Regions from separate parts of the Homo sapiens genome. Here region 2 is linked to region 1. The links are contacts of gene promoters, found by promoter capture Hi-C in human tissues and cell types (Jung and others, 2019). All regions are on one chromosome and are shown on one strand. Each heading gives the region's core, a stretch centred on a gene start or on the middle of the fragment in contact. The rest is flanking DNA. Distances are from core to core; before and after follow the strand shown. Region 1 holds the start of AGO3 (argonaute RISC catalytic component 3). Region 2 overlaps CLSPN-DT (CLSPN divergent transcript).

Region 1 (3,008 bases), core at 65-2,564:
CTTGTGTTATTCACTAACATTTGGGGAGGATTTTCTCTGTGCTTTATGTATATTACCTAACCTTACAAACTGTGTAAGGTACATGCTGTTCTCTCAATTTTTCAGATAAGAAAATTGAAGCCCAGAGAGATCAAGTGACTGATCCAAAGTCCCACAGTGAGGGGAACTGAAGATAGGATATTCTTTCTCCTTTTCCTCTTTAAAAAATTATTTTGATTAAAAAAAACCGTATTACTGAAGCATAGGGACATGGGGAGAAATTATGAATGATTCCTCAGCCTGAATAAAATAGTATGTTTCATTAAGGCAACAAATATTTATTAAGGACCTAATATTTGCCTGACATTCAAGTGAGGTGGGGGGCACACAAGTAGTAAATAAATAACAGACTGGGCAAAGGGCTACCAAGGCAATACTGTAGTAGACTAACAGGTGCCCCACCATAGATGGGTGGTCCGGAAAAGGCGTCTCAGATGTCTTTCGTTGAGACGCAAAAAAAAGCTGTGGGGTAGGGCGTAAGGGGAGGGTGGAGAAGAGAGAGAGGGTTCCTGGCCAAGGGAACCAAAAGCAGAGAAGCTCCAAGTCAGAAAAAAGCAGCGGTTGGCCCGTTGGGAGAATTGGAAGCCAACCAGTATAGCTGTAGCACAGGCGGGGCCCATTTACGCCGTGCGTTTTCACCCTGGAAAGGAGTTTGGGTTTTCAAGTGTGACGAGGCGCTATTAAAGAGTTTTAAACATGGAAATTACTCGATCTGATGTTTGTGTAGTGTCCTGTTTGTTAGTCATCTTTTCCAAACTATAATACATTTTTTTTTTCCTAAAAATGGTCGTTAAAGCAGCCTAGGACTTAGGTCAATTGCGGTGGTCACTTGACCGCCTGTGAGGAGGCGGCGCGTGGGGTGGATCGGACTGGGCGTGGCGGGGGCTCAGGAAGGAGGGTGGCCCTACCCCAGCGGGCTCGGCTCGGGGCCTCCGCGGCAGTTCGGGGTCCTTCACCCGCCGGCTCCAGGTAGGCTACTCCTCAGGTAAGCCCCGCCGCCAGCCGCGACGTCGTCGCAGACAGGCACCGCCCCCACTCGTGCGGCGCGAGTAGTCCTGCCCCTCCGCGTTGTCTCCGGCCGGCACGGCCCGGCGGGGTACGGCCGAGCCCGCCGCATGTGGCCCGGCTCCCGGACACCTCCCCGGCGTCCTCCGCGCCGGCCGCTCCTGCCCCGACGTCGCTCCGGCACGGCTCGGGGCCCAGAGGCGAGGCGAGGACGCCGGGCAAGCCAGGCAGCGGAACTGACGCCGGCGAGCTTCCGGGGCGGCCCCGGGCAGGTCGGCGGCGGCGGCCCGCAGTCGTGGAGGAGCGGTGGGAGCGTCGGCGGCCGCGGGCGATGCAACTTCCGGACGGGACTCCCCTCTGTCCGCGCCTCACATCTCCCCTTCCTCTCGCCTAGTCCTGTGCCGTTTTCCGTCCGCGACTCTTCCGGCCCAGAGCTTTCGGAGTGCGGTTGCTCAGGGGAAGCCGTCGCCGCCCCCGCCTCGGGGCCGAGTGAGAGTGCCCGTCGCGTCGCGCCGCGTCGCCCCCCGGGCCGCCTCCTTGCCGCCAGTGGCGGGCTCCGTTCTCCCTCGAAGCACTCCCCCCAGCTCCATGAATGGAAATCGGCTCCGCAGGTGAGTCAGAGTAGCTGGGCCAGGTAGGGGATGTCACCCAGCTACTGTCCTCTGAGCATCCCTGCTCCTCCCGCCCGGCCCAGGTGCGCGAGGTGAGCGTCGGGCGGGCATCGCTCGGTCTCCCGCCCCTCGCCCTGCTCCTCCGCGACCTCCCCGCAGCCCAGCCCCAGTTCCCCGGGGGCCCCTGAGTCGGCGAAACTGCGAGGCGGGGAAACGCTTGGAGGATTTAAGTTTGGGGTTATCTAGGCGGCATTACTCTTTGCTGGAGTACCCTTCTTCTAGACTTTAGAATGGTTTGCCATTGTCTAGTTGGAGTGCGTGTCCTTTAGCCAGGTTGTGTGTTCCGTAGAGGCTGGGCAGCCAGCCAGCTCCCTTACCTACCTCTTAGGATAGTTGTGAAGATAGGCTGAGATAACGGATAACTTCAGATTAAGTTCGAAGGAGGTGTTGGTGCAACGTTAAATTCAACATGGCATTGCTCCTACCCTCGAGTTCTTTTCTGTTGTTTGTGGCAGCATGGTAGATAGTTTCTGAGGAGCTTGGAAATGTCATAGCAGCCTGGATCCCTGCTTATACGAGGAGGTGGTTCTTAAAATTGCTGACAGTATATTTTTTTTCATTCTCTATTCCTTAGAGAAGTAGTTGTCATATTCCTGGAAATTTGGAATTTAAGAAAACTGCTTTATCTCTGGGGGCAAGAGCAGCAGTTTTGCAGTCTTAAGAGAAAATTGCAACATGGATAGTACTTGTCCTTAAAAAAGGAAAAGTATTGTTTATGGTTCTAAAGTAATTAATTCAGGGACAGAAAGGTGTTGCATAACGGTTTGCCTAACAAATGATCATGCTTGGCTTATTAAATTTGAAAGTATGCTTCAGACGATCACAAGTTCGTAAATTAATTTTCAAAATATTTGCGGGGCTGTCTTGTTACTAATGGTGTTACAAGTTCCTGAATTCCATATCTCTTTTTGCCAATTTGATATAAGAAAAACTTACGTAAAAGAAACCAGTGACATAACGATAGCTAAGAACTTTGTTGAATAGATTACGTGTCAAATGGTTGCAAAAAAGCACTCAAACTGGGGAGATGAGATGGGGAGAGAGTTACAAATTTTTTTTTTTTTTTTTTACAAATTTTGTTACATGGAAGTTTCTCTAATCAATTTAGACCATATCTCTTTTTCCTGCTCCATTGTTTCGCTTTCCCCCATATCGTCTTAAAAGGTCTGTCTGGATTGTGAAAAGATTTCGACTCTTATTCAGTTTTGATTTGTGTATTTCTGAAACTGTCCTGCCCTTTTAAAAAAATTACCATACTACTGTTTTACTGTACAGGAGATGTGATTATTTGGG
Region 2 (2,941 bases), core at 370-2,869, 140 kb before region 1:
CGTTATGAAAATGTTTTAAATTATTATCAGCACTAACTTTGGCAGATTTAGAAACACCAGGATGTGTATACAATAATGTAAGTTAAGATTTGGGGCCCAGGGCCGGGCACAGTGGCTCATGCCTGCAATCCCAGCACTTTGGGAGGTCGAGGCGGGCGTATCACTTGAGGTCAGGAGTTCGAGATCAGCCTGGGCAACATGACAAAACTCCATCTCTACAAAAAATACAAAAATTAGCCAGATGCTGTTGTGCACGCCTGTAGTCCCAGCTACCTGGGAGGCTGAGGTGGAAGATCACTTGACCCTGAGGGGTCAGAGGTTGCAGTGAGCTGAGATGGCGACACTGCACTCCAGCGTGGGTGACAGAGAGGGACCTTGTCTCAAAAAAAAAAAGCTTTGTGGCCCAAATTGCCTTCACCCACTCCATACACACGTTCTCAGCCCAAAGTTTCCAAATATTTTCTCCATATAACTTAAAGATGACTTTTCCTAACTACCCTCACTTTAAGGACTTAATACAGTTGTACATATATTTCTGCTATGTGGATCTCAGACACATAAGGCTTGGCAACAGGGAGGAGACAACCTCAGTTGGCTCCTCGGGAAGTAGGACATGCCTCCACAGTCAGATAGCTGGAAAACAGATGGATGGACCAGGCAGAAATGCTTCTGGACCATTTCTAGCCTCTGGGAAAAAGAAAACAAGGAATACTGTGGAGCTCCAGAAGTACCAAGAACTCCAAGGAATGTGGCTTCTACAGGGAAGAGCTTATATCTTTCCTGAAATTGTGGTCCCAGAACTTTAAAAATTGCTGGATATTTGATAATCTGGATATTTGATTCCTCCTGTGAAGGAGGAACAACGGTGGTTTGAACACATATATTTATCTCCTTTCCTGGAGCCCCAGAAAAAATGAGAGCAAATGAATAAAACCAGAATAAACCCACAAGAACAAAGAGAGTGGGAGAAAAACATCAGAGGATGAGAAGATGGAAAGCTAAGTGGAAAAATCAGCTGTGGTGAGAAAGCTGTATACCAAGTGTCTGCAGAGGTGGTGCTCATGAGAAGCTAGCCATTTCCTGCCACAGAATTCCAGCTAGGCTCAAATACTAGGGGATCCAGGAACCCAGGAAGAAGAATGGGTGAAAGACAAGAGGATTGGTTGAAAGTCTCTAGGCCGGGAGCGGTGGCTCACGCCTGTAATCCCAACACTTTGGGAGGCCGAGGCGGGTGGATCACGAGGTCAGGAGATCGAGACCACCCTGGCTAACACGCTGAAACCCCGTCTCTACTAAAAAAAAATACAAAAAAAAAAAAAAAAAATTAGCCGGGCATGGTGGCAGGCGCCTGTAGTCCCAGCTATTCGGGAGGCTGAGGCGGGAGAATGGCGTGAACCCGGGAGGCGGGGCTTGCAGTGAGCCGAGATCGCCCCACTGCACTCCAGCCTGGGTGACAGAGCGAGACTCCGTCTCAAAAAAAAAAAAAAAAGGAAGTCTCTATAAGGATTAGGTAGCCTCTAGAGCCCTCTATGATCTAGAACCTTTCAGGAGTCTGGCAGGAGTCTAGAGGTTTAGTCTGTGGAGCAACTGAACCAAAGGGGAGCCTTAAGAGAGAGAGCGAGCCACTGGAAGTCTACATATTGAACCATGAGACACACCCTTCTCTGTCCATTCCTACCCCAGCCCCCACAGTCTCCTTATCCTGGTGGCTAGGCTGCTCCCTCCCTAGGCATGCAAATGGGGGAATTTTCAGGAGAAACTAAACAGCCCCAGAGAAATGACCTAAAGTTGGGGCTTCCATTATGAAAAGCTACCAACGGACAAACCTCATACATAGATACAGAATTCAAATCAGTCTTTTAATACCTACCTCTTTGATGTGAATGGACAAAAAAGGATCACCAGACTTTTAAGGAAAGCCCGAAAATAAATGAGGGAGACGAAAAGAAAAAGAAAAAGAAAAAGACTAATAGAACATGTAACTCCCTTTGTTTCTGGGGTTTCCCACACTCTTCTCTTCCTTCTACCTCCCTGGCTGATCCTCTCCAATCACCTTTGCTGGATCTCCCTCACCTCCTTGACCTTTACATGTTGCAATGCCCAGGACACAAGGACCTCTTCTTTTCTCCATCTACACTCACTCTTTTAGTAAGCTTATCAGCCTCGTGGCCCTAAATATTCTTTATATGCAGTTGACTCCCAAATGTATATTTTTAGAGCAATTTATCTTCTGACTCCAGACTGTATATCTCTATGCGTACTCAGCCTCTCCACTTGGTGACCTTACAGGCACCTCAAAACTAATGTGTTCAAAATATATTACTGGCCGGGAGTGGTGGCTCATGCCTGTAATCAATCCCAGCACTTTGGGAGGCCAAGGTGGGCAGATCACCTGAGGTCAGGAGTTCGACACCCGTCTGGCCAACATGGTGAAACCCCGTCTCTACTAAAAATACAAAAATTAGCCCGGTGTGGCGGTGCATGCCTGTAATCCCAGATACTTGGGGGAGCTGAGGCAGGTGAATGCTTGAACTTGGGAGGCAGAGGTTGTAGTGAGCTGAGATCATGCCACTACACTTCAGCCTGGGCGACAGAGTAACACACTGTGTCAAAACAAAACAAAACAAAAACCCAAAATATATTACCAATCTTCTCTCCAAGAATCTGTATCTACTAAAGTCTCCCTCATCTTAATAAATGTCAACTTATTAATAATTTTTTTTGAGACAGAGTCTCTCTCTGTCCCCTAGGCTGGAGTGTAGTGGCACAATCTTGGCTCACTGCAACTTCCGCCTCCCAGGTTCAAGCAATTCTCCTTCCTCAGCCTCCTGAGTAGCTGGGATTACAGGCACACAGCACCATACCTGGCTAATTTTTTTGTATTTTTAGTAGAGATGGGGTTTCACCATGTTGGCCAGGCTGGTCTCGAACTCCTGACCTT

The links. The method cuts DNA at HindIII sites, captures the fragments that hold promoters and counts their contacts. A contact is called where the count stands out against the background at its distance.
Region 2: a fragment that was not itself captured here is called in contact with the fragment with the promoter of AGO3 in region 1 in 1 of the 25 tissues and cell types used here (mesenchymal stem cells).

What each region holds. Positions count from the first base shown.
Region 1 is chr1:35,929,791-35,932,798 of GRCh38, forward strand. AGO3 (argonaute RISC catalytic component 3) reads left to right here and starts at 1,315. Exons shown (of 19, transcript NM_024852.4): 1 at 1,315-1,655. The coding sequence starts at 1,637. It overlaps AGO1 (argonaute RISC component 1), which reads left to right. Exons shown (of 19, transcript NM_012199.5): 19 at 1-742. RefSeq lists enhancers at 931-1,454, 1,455-1,979, 1,980-2,502 and silencers at 958-1,467, 1,478-1,817. The HindIII fragment of the contact is 14,720 bases long and covers 1-3,008 here.
Region 2 is chr1:35,786,175-35,789,115 of GRCh38, forward strand. The region is part of intron 2 of CLSPN-DT (CLSPN divergent transcript); the gene reads left to right. Among named protein-coding and RNA genes, the nearest start is that of CLSPN-DT, 18 kb to the left of the region's middle. The HindIII fragment of the contact is 5,779 bases long and covers 1-2,941 here.